Regions from separate parts of the Homo sapiens genome. Here regions 1 and 3 are each linked to region 2. Evidence: promoter capture Hi-C in human tissues and cell types (Jung and others, 2019). All regions are on one chromosome and are shown on one strand. Each heading gives the region's core, a stretch centred on a gene start or on the middle of the fragment in contact. The rest is flanking DNA. Distances are from core to core; before and after follow the strand shown.

The links. Contacts are between HindIII fragments. The study calls those that stand out against the background at their distance.
Region 1: a contact is called between a fragment that was not itself captured here and the fragment with the promoter of SPTAN1 in region 2, in 1 of the 25 tissues and cell types used here (hippocampus).
Region 3: a contact is called between the fragment with the promoter of FNBP1 here and the fragment with the promoter of SPTAN1 in region 2, in 1 of the 25 tissues and cell types used here (heart left ventricle).

What each region holds. Positions count from the first base shown.
Region 1 is chr9:129,629,667-129,632,561 of GRCh38, reverse strand. All of the region lies in intron 1 of NTMT1 (N-terminal Xaa-Pro-Lys N-methyltransferase 1), which reads right to left. Among named protein-coding and RNA genes, the nearest start is that of NTMT1, 5.0 kb to the right of the region's middle. RefSeq lists an enhancer at 421-1,211. The HindIII fragment of the contact is 4,298 bases long and covers 1-2,895 here.
Region 2 is chr9:128,550,994-128,554,031 of GRCh38, reverse strand. SPTAN1 (spectrin alpha, non-erythrocytic 1) reads right to left here and starts at 1,445. Exons shown (of 57, transcript NM_001130438.3): 1 at 1,336-1,445. LOC101929270 (a long non-coding RNA gene) reads left to right here and starts at 1,619. Exons shown (of 4, transcript NR_188457.1): 1 at 1,619-1,664. RefSeq lists a silencer at 1,032-1,801. The HindIII fragment of the contact is 8,229 bases long and covers 1-3,038 here.
Region 3 is chr9:130,041,927-130,044,778 of GRCh38, reverse strand. It overlaps FNBP1 (formin binding protein 1), which reads left to right and starts at 1,590. Exons shown (of 17, transcript NM_015033.3): 1 at 1,590-1,827. The coding sequence starts at 1,804. RefSeq lists silencers at 1,328-1,887, 2,068-2,227. The HindIII fragment of the contact is 16,914 bases long and covers 1-2,852 here.

The sequences.
Region 1 (2,895 bases), core at 119-2,618, 1.1 Mb before region 2:
CAAGTCACACATCCTGCTGAGTGCAGAGAGAAGTCCAGGGTCCCCAAATCTGCTTCTACCCCTTGGATAACAGCATCTTCTGTCTTTTGCACTCAGAGCACCCGCCCCAAGTCCTGGCTTCAAGTTCTTTTACATTTTTATTTTTTCTGGAGTGCAGTGGTGTGATCATAGCTCAATGCAGCCTCCAACTCCCGAGCTCAAGAGACCCTCCCACCTCACCCTCCGGAGCAGCTAGGACTACAGTTGTGTGCCACCATGCCTGGCTAATTATTTTTTGTAGAGATGGGGTCTCACTATGTTACAAAGGTTGGTCTTGAAGTCCTGACCTCAAGAGATTCTCCCACCTTGGCCTCCCAAAGTGCTGGGATTACGGGTGTGAGCCCATGTGCCTGGCCTGGCTTCAAGTTCTTGATATGCTCTATATGACACCTGACTCAGTGGCTTCAGGGCACAGAAAACCCTGATCAATAAAGAGAAACGACCGCAAAGCCGAGAGCACCAGCAGACCCTGGAGGGCCAGGGAAGCTTCCACGCCTCCCTTCCTCTGGCTCAGAGCACAGCAACAACTCACGGTGGGGTCCAGTCCTCCGTTAACAAGGAGTGGGGACTCTGTGCCAGGCACCGGGCTGTGAACCAGGCAGCCAGCCAGGCAGAAAACAATTCTACAGACACAACCACACCTGCAGGGAGGGCTGCAGAGGAGAAGCGCCAGTGCCAGCAGAGCACGGAGGGAGGAAGTGGAGTCGGGTGCGGGGACCAGGGAAGGCATCCCTGAGGAGGGGACGCGTAAGCTGAAACCGATGGATGGGCAAGAATAAGCGCAGTAGGTGGAGGGCGACGGCACTGCTCCTGGAGGGAAGGACAGACAGCCCTCGCGGCTGCCAGTTCCTGGTCTCACAGTCAACTCTAGCAGTTTCGACTGCATCCTACAGAGCAATGAGTCAACCACCCTGAGGCCCAACAGAGAGTGGCCCGGGAAGACCGATGCTTCTGAAGACTGCTGGCGGCGGTGGAGATGGCAGGGGGATGAGGAGACGGTTGCCACGGTAGAAGGAGAGAGAACTAGAAAGCCTCAGCTGGGTCCTGGCAGCAGAGCCCAGGCCCACCTCACCCTTCAGGACAGCGATGACAGTTGGGCGGCTCCGTGCTCCACGGGTGGCCATTCTGCCATAAGCTTCCCAAGGCACAGTGCTGTCACCAAGGCACACCACGCTTAGGGGCTGTTCTAGTTGCTGTGAGGCTTGCCAAGACCTCAGAGAGCTCTAGTCCAGGAGGACAAAGAACAAAGGGAAAGAAAATACACAGCAGAAAAATAAGGATTCTCATGGACCCACAAAGTGTCGAGGACACTCAAAGGGCAGAGGAATCTCCTCCCAACAGCAGATAGGGGCAGCCGCCTGGAGGAGGCAGCCCGAGCTGGGCAGCCAAGCACAGGGAGTGCTGGAGGGGGTGGGGCAGACAGAGGGAGCAGCCGTGGGACAGCATGGGCCATCAGAGGGCGGAGAGTGGAGCGGGGGAAGACTGTGGAAGGTGAGCTCGGAAAGGCAGACGGGGCCTGGATGAGGGTGGCCTCGAGTGCATGCTGGGCACCAACTCTCGGCTGATGTGTTTCCCACACTGCCAAGGCCTAACCTAAAGGAGGCAGAGTGAGAATGGCAGTGGCCGTGCTGAGGACACACAGCAACAGTGGGTGGTAGGAATCCCAGCAGCAGCAGCTGCTACATCCTGATAAACCCATGGTAAAGGGAAAATACCCTCGGTGGAAAACGCGCAGCTGACTGGGAGCTGCAGCTCACCGCCTCGCACGTGCTGCCTCCACACGAGGAGAGCAGGGGGCTTCTAGCAAATGCCTGTCGCCAAAGTTGACAAATCGTAGGTCCAAGACCGTCTGCCTGACTCCTGGAGCTACAGGGTCAACACGGAAGAGTCCACATATGGAACTCGGGTACAGTCCTCAAACACAACTCAAAGCTTAAGACCCAGGAACACTCTAGGGGCTTCAAGAGAAGTGGTCAGAGGGAAACGGGAAAATGCCCTGAGAAGGAGCACGAGGCCTTTGGGAAGCAACTATGAGGAAAGAGAAGGGAAACTAAACACAAGACAAGCTGGAGAATTTTTTCTTCTTTTTTTTTAGAAAGGGTCTCACTGTCGCCAGACTTGAGTACAGCTCAGGTGATCCTCCCATCTCAGCCTCCAGGGTAGCTGGGACTGCAGGCACATACCGCCACACCTGGCTAACTTTTGTATTTTCTGTAGATATGGAGTTTTGCCACGTTGCCCAGGCTGGTCTCAAACACCTGGCTGCAAGCAATCCACCTGCCTCAGCCTCCCAAGGTGTTGGGATTACAGGCAGAAACCACTGCACCCAGCCAAGATTTTTCATTGGTCAAATTTGTTACTGGCCCCAGAACTATATTCTGCACTACTATATTCTGAACCTGTCCTGAAAGAGAAGGAACTTTCCAGAAGCAGTAGGCCCACCCCGCCCAGCCAGCTCAAGAATACTTCTAACAGATGCAACGGGGTTCTTCTTAGATCCGTGATTGGGTCTTCTCACCCTTAGCAGAATCCTTTGGCTGTGCCTAGAGAGAAGCCTGCTTAAACTTCTCTTCAGATTCTTGTTTTTTTGAGATGGGGTCTTACTATGTGGCCCAGGCTGGCCCCAAACTCCTGGGCTCAAGCCATCCTCCCTGCTCAGCCTCCCAAGTAGCTGAGATTACAGGCGCACGCCACTGCACCTGGCTTCCCTCTTCAGATTCTTGAATCCGCTCGCAGACTGACCCCTCACTTTACTGTTCACGCACAAGGGTTTCAGCCACAATGAAGAAAGGCAGCAGTCACTTCACCAATCAGGGAGCCCTTTGGGGTAACAGGCTGGGGAGGACCTTAGTTCTA
Region 2 (3,038 bases), core at 196-2,695:
AAGGGAAAATAAACGACTAGTTAAGGAGTCGGAACCTTGACTCAATGGCTTCATATAGCTGAGTGTTCCTCCTGCTATTTCCAAGATTTTCTGTTTCCTGGCTCCAAGACACCCCCACCCTTCCATCTTTGATACATTCTGTTTTACTTAAGGCCAATTGCTATGACGACGCAATTTCTCAACACATTATGAAAATACTTCATATGGCCTCTCTCCTGTTCTTCCCGAACAGCCATGATGGTAAGTTTTTCTAAAATAACATGATGAAGACAGAACAAAGGGCTTAAATATTTTAGGATCTATTATATAAAAGAGATCTGATTAGATGTTGGAACAGTTCAAGCATCATCTCAACCCAGCTTTCTGAGCTATTTAGGCTTTTCATTTAAAACATATTCAACTTTTAACAAGGCGCTTATTTAAAATATATTTTACTCTAGTACATCAGAGACTTTTGAAAGCGATGTTCTAGGGGAAGCGTCTAATCAAATTCTCAGGGACAGCTTTCAAACAAAAGACTGTTCTATCATTCAACAGTGGTATGGTAGAATTTTTGACACTGTATCTCGACTCGAAAGACCCAGTCCCAGGAAACACACACACAAACAAGAACGCTAAGCTATTAAGTTATTTGATTTGAGCCACATACCATGCAAGCACTGCATTTACCTATTATTTACAAGCAAATCACAACTAGGAAGAAAGAAAAATGTTTATTACAAGGAAAGAAAAGGAGACGGCCAGTCTCAGACCCTTCTGCGTTCAGAGAGACGGCAGAGATTCGCCATGCAGGATGAAATTAAGGTCAGAGAGCCGTTTACGCTATGCTCGGGCTCCCCGGGCTCTTCCTCCCTCTACGGCTGGCCGGCATTGCTGGTGCGATTCGGAAGAACGAGCTGCAGAAGTCGCTCCCGGCCGAGGGAAGGGACCGGGGGCGGTGCGGGGAGCGTTCTGCAGGGAGGCGGCTGGCGAAGATCCCGACGAGGGAGCCCCCACCCACCTGCCGCAGCCGGATGGGGCAGGGCAGGGCCGCGCCGCAGCCAGGCTTGGGGGTGGTTGGGAGGGACCCGGCGGCCTCGCGCCCCCTCCCCCCGTCAGTGACATTCCAGCGGCGGCGCCGAGCCTCGGCCCGGCTGCTCCTCCGCAGCCCACGCGCCACAAAAGCAGCGGCAGCGGCTTCCCCCACTCAGCCGAATGGAGGCAGCCCCGCGGCCCGCCCGGCTCACCTGTCCGCGCGCCGGCCCCGCCCCGCCTGAAGAGCTGCCCAGCTCCCACCCGGGGGTCGGCTGCCCGGGGCCCCGCTCCCTCCCGGAGCTCCCCGGCTGCCCCTCTCACCGGCTCTCGGGGGGTGAGGGGCGTGGGTGCGTCGGGCCGAGGGGTGCTGAAGGACCGAGGAGCCTCCGCGGCCTCCGCTCCACACCGTTCACTCCGCAGCGGGTAGTGGCGGCGACGCGCGCGCCCCGCCTCTTTTATAAGCGGCTACGCGCGCTCCCGCGGCGGGCGGGCGCGAGCGCCGGGGGAAGCGCCCCGGCGCTGCGCGAGGGGTGGGGGAGCGCGCCGGCGGAGCAAAGGGGGCGGTGCTCCCGCCGGCTCGCCGCCCGACCGCCCGGCGGAAAGGGCCGAGCGATCCCGGAAGGAGCCGAAGCGACAATGCGGGGGAAGAGGTGAGCGAGGGGCGGGCCGCGGGAGGATGGGGAAATGGGGCGCGCGCAAGGGGTGAGGGGTGATGGTGCAGTGAGGTCACTGCCTACGCCCTGGCGGTAGAGACGCTCCCGCCTCACCTCCCTCCCCGCAGCTTGCGCCCCGCCACCGCCCGCCCTGCGGACAGTCGTCTGCATCGCACCACTCCGCCCTGGGAGCTCTTCCAGGACTGCGGAGAAGGGCGGGGCGGGGGTATCGCTGCAGTCTGGCTGGGGATGCTGCGCGCCCCGGCCGGAAAAACGCCCAGTCCCAAAGGGTGAGATCACCCGAGTGCGTCTCTTCCTGCTCACTTTCCCGAGGAGGAGGCTGGCGCTGGGGTCCCAAGTCAGCCTAATTCGGTGGGGGCTGGGGTCAAGAAGACGCGGATGATTTGGGGCCCCGGGTTTGAGGAGGTGGTGAGAGGAAAAGGCCAAATCCGAATCAGAAAAAAAATTAAGTCGACTAATTTGGGGCATAAAGCTGTCATTCTGGGATTTGGAGAGTTAATTTCTTATGTTCTTGGAGATTATGGGGGAGGAAACGGCAGCGGCAAAATAATAATTTCTTACATTCCTGCAACAAAAGCTTTCTCACAGGTCGCCAGTGGAATAGGCTACATTCATCCTATTTCATAAACAAGACATTAAGGTTCTTTCTGGCACAATTAATCGAACTTGCCTTGTGTACTAGGCACTATGCTAAGTATTTCGTGTTACCTTTTCATTTCTTAATCTTTGCAATAATTTTATGAGATGTTTTCCCATTTTACAAATGGGCACTCTTACATAATGCTCATGTAGGCTAAGTCTCTTGGCCCAGGTCAGGCAGCTACCAATTGGAAGAGCTAGGATTTACATCTCAGCAGTCAGAACCTTCCCTTTGCAACCGTATGTGTATTGCCTTCAAATAGGAAAGGGAGGCATTTTGATGCGGGTGGCTGCTGGGGTGCAGAAAGAGAAAAATAAGATTCTCAGAATTTCTGATACTTAAAGTCCTAGCAGTTTAAGGTCCTGGCTCTAAACTCTGTAGCCAGAAGCCCTGGATTAGGAAGCCCTTTCCCTATCCCCATTCCGGTGACAGCTGGGCCGCAGCCACTGGGAGTAACACCCAGATCATTCCTGTGCAGTCAGGCAGACGGGGAGCTCTGCAGCTTAGGAAGGCTTCAGCCTCCTGGTTACCAAGCAGCTCTCCTCTTTAAATAAATATAAAGTCATTGGACACTGCACCAGAATCTGGGCCCAGACCTGGCCCTGAGCTTCCTGGCCCTCTGCAGTTTGGCTTCTTTCCCCGTGCCTGGGACCTGCAATACGGTTTCTAAGCTGTCCTGGCTGTAGCCATGATACTGAGGAAAAATTTCC
Region 3 (2,852 bases), core at 341-2,840, 1.5 Mb before region 2:
TTTTTAGTAGAGACGGGGTTTCTCCATGTTGGCCAGGCTGCTCTCAAACTCCTGACCTCAGATGATCCACTCACTTCTGCCTCCCAAAGTGTTGGGATTACAGGCGTGAGCCACCATGCCCGGCTTTAATTCATTATTGTTAATATTTTTGAGACAGGGTCTTGCTCTGTTGCTCAAGCTGGAGGGCAATGGCACCATCATGGCTCACTGCAACTTCAACCTTCTAGGCTCAAGCGATCCTCCTGTCTCAGTCTCCCAAGTAGCTGGGACCACAGGTGCATGCCACCATGCCCAGCTAACTTTTTTTTTTTTCTTTTTGTAGAGACAGGGTCTTGCGATGTTGCCCAGGCTGGTCTCAAATTCCTGGCCTCCAGCCATCCTCCCACCTGGGCCTCCTGATGTGCTGGGATTACAGGCGTGAGCCACCAGACCCGGGTTAGCTCCACCTTTTAATGGAGGAGAATGATAAGCAGGTTGAAAATGGTGGGGTGGGATTGGAGAAATGCATCATCGTAAAATATTTTTTAACTGGGGGCCCATGTTGGGAGTCGCACGGTTTCTCAGAAAAGGATCCAGTAGTAGCATTAACCGAGGGAGAAAGATAAGCTGTGGGGAAAGGGCTAGTGATTCAGGAGTTGGAATTCCAAACATTTTCCATAGCTTGTCAGGAACATTTGTGCAGACCTTTGGATATATAGAGAGGGAGTCCGTCTGCTGATAAAATGAGCGCTGGGTTTACCAACCTTCGGCCTTGGCCCACCCCTGATCCTCACCGCCGGGCAGTGAGATGGACACGTTATTTGCCTCCATTTGGTGGACTGCGCTCTGCGCTTCCAGAGGTGGAGCAATTGTCCGCCTCCGCCCGGCCAGCACGTGCGGGAGGCTGGATTTGAACCAAACAAGTTATCTGTGTACCCCACGCCTTTGCTTTTACCCACTAGGCGGTAACGTGATTTCACGCCTGAGAGTTTCTTGGCTGAACAAGTTGGAAATCACTGGTTTCAGAGATTGGAAATCACTGGGTGCACGCCCCTGGATTCTTTCCCTAGCCACTCGAGGCCGTCGCGCTTGCCTCGACGTCTCTATTCGCACAGCGCGCAGTTACCACCGCCCCACTCCCACCGCGCCAGCCTGCGGGACTCTCGGGCTTCCCTCGGGCGGTGGGAAAAGAGCCTCCCGGGCTGACTCTGCTCGGCGCGCATGGCTGCCAGGGGAAAGTATTGTCCTTAAATCCAGAGCGGCGATACGCGCAGGGGAGCGATCTCAGACCGCGGCGGAGCATCGGTGATCCCAGGGCCTGCCGCGTTCCAAGGCAAGCGCTAGTACTGCGAGCAGACAGTGGTCACTAAGAAGTCATTACCAGATTGGCAGGGGGAGTCCTAGGGATCCGGGTCCCGCCGTCCCTCACACCTCCCTCCGCGTCCTTCCGGACCCCAGGGCGACGCGGACCCGGCCGGGGGAGCCCGGGGGAGGGGGCCGGGCCGGGGTGGGGCGGGCGCGCGTGCGCGAGCTGTCAGACCGGCCCCGCCCCTCCCCTCCCGCCCCTCCCCCGCTCTCCGGGTGTAGGGCGGGCGGGCGCTGCGGCGGCCGCGGCTGCTGCTTCCTCGGGCCATTTTGCTGTGGAGCGGCGGGGAGGAGGAGCCGCCGAGGAGACCCCGGGCGAGGAGCTGCGAGCCGGAGGAGGCCGCGCGGACTCCGGGCTTTCCGCCGTCGCGGGGATCTCGGGGGGCAAAGGGATCGCCGGGGAGGGGGACCAGAGAGCCGCGCCCGCCGCGCGGAGCGCCCCTTCGCGTCCCCTGCACCATGAGCTGGGGCACCGAGCTCTGGGTGAGTGAGGGGCTGGGCCCGCGGGCAGATGCGGGGCGCGCGCTGCGTTTCCCCGCGGCCTGGGGAGGGGGCGCGGGCCGCGCTGCTGGGCGGAGGCGAGGGCGCGCTGGTCGGGGTCCTCGCGGCCTGGGGAGGAGGCGGGGTTCCAATGCCCCTCGTCCGCCTTGGCCCGAGCAGGAGGTGCGGGCCGGCTTGTCCTTCGGAGGCGAGGGGAGTTGGTGCGGGTCCCCGGCGGCCTGAGGAACGGCGCGGGCGGGCCTCCCTGTCCCCGGCGCCCCGGAGCGGGCCGTGTGTGTCGGGCCGAGCCCTAATCCCCCGGGGCGAGCCGCGGATGCCCGGGGAGGGCCGGGACCGGGCGTGGGGGCGTGGAGGCCCCGGCTGCGCGGCGCTGCGTTGGGTCTCGGGGCGCCCCGGCCGCGAGTTCTGTCCTGGCTCCGCGGAGGCGCTGGCGGATCGGGCACTTCCCCGGGAGCGGGGCGGCCGGGGCGAGCGCCGGGGGTCGGGTTTTGGGGTGCTGGGGCGAGAGTGCGGTCTTCGCTCTGGAGGCGAGGACTTCTGGCCCGTGGCGGCTCCGGGCGCACTTGTTCTTTCGGGGTAGCTCAATCCTGAGTGGGATGTGGGCACTGCGACGTCTGGTCTGGAGGGGAAAGTGGGAGTTAGGGAGAGATCTTACGTGATCTACCTCAGGAAGAGGCGTTCGCGGGGTCAATGATCTTTAACGGTTGCTCGGAGAATAGTTTCCAGTGGGGAAAGTTGGCGGTGAGGGGCGCCTTGCGGGGATGCTTGGCCGGGGGATGCGCACGGTAAACGGGCAGCCCTCAGGGCTGAGGGCCGTCCCCGGAAAGGCGAGGGGCTGGCTGTGGATGGAGCTCTTTTCCTGCCGTCCCCGGATTCCTGGGGAAATCACTGGGCAGGGGATGGGCAGTGCGGCGGCCCGGGAAGGAGCAGACGAAATCTCAGTTACTGCACTGAAATGCCCTCAAGATGAGCCATTTCCCAGGATGAACTCTAAAGTGCCTGAACTA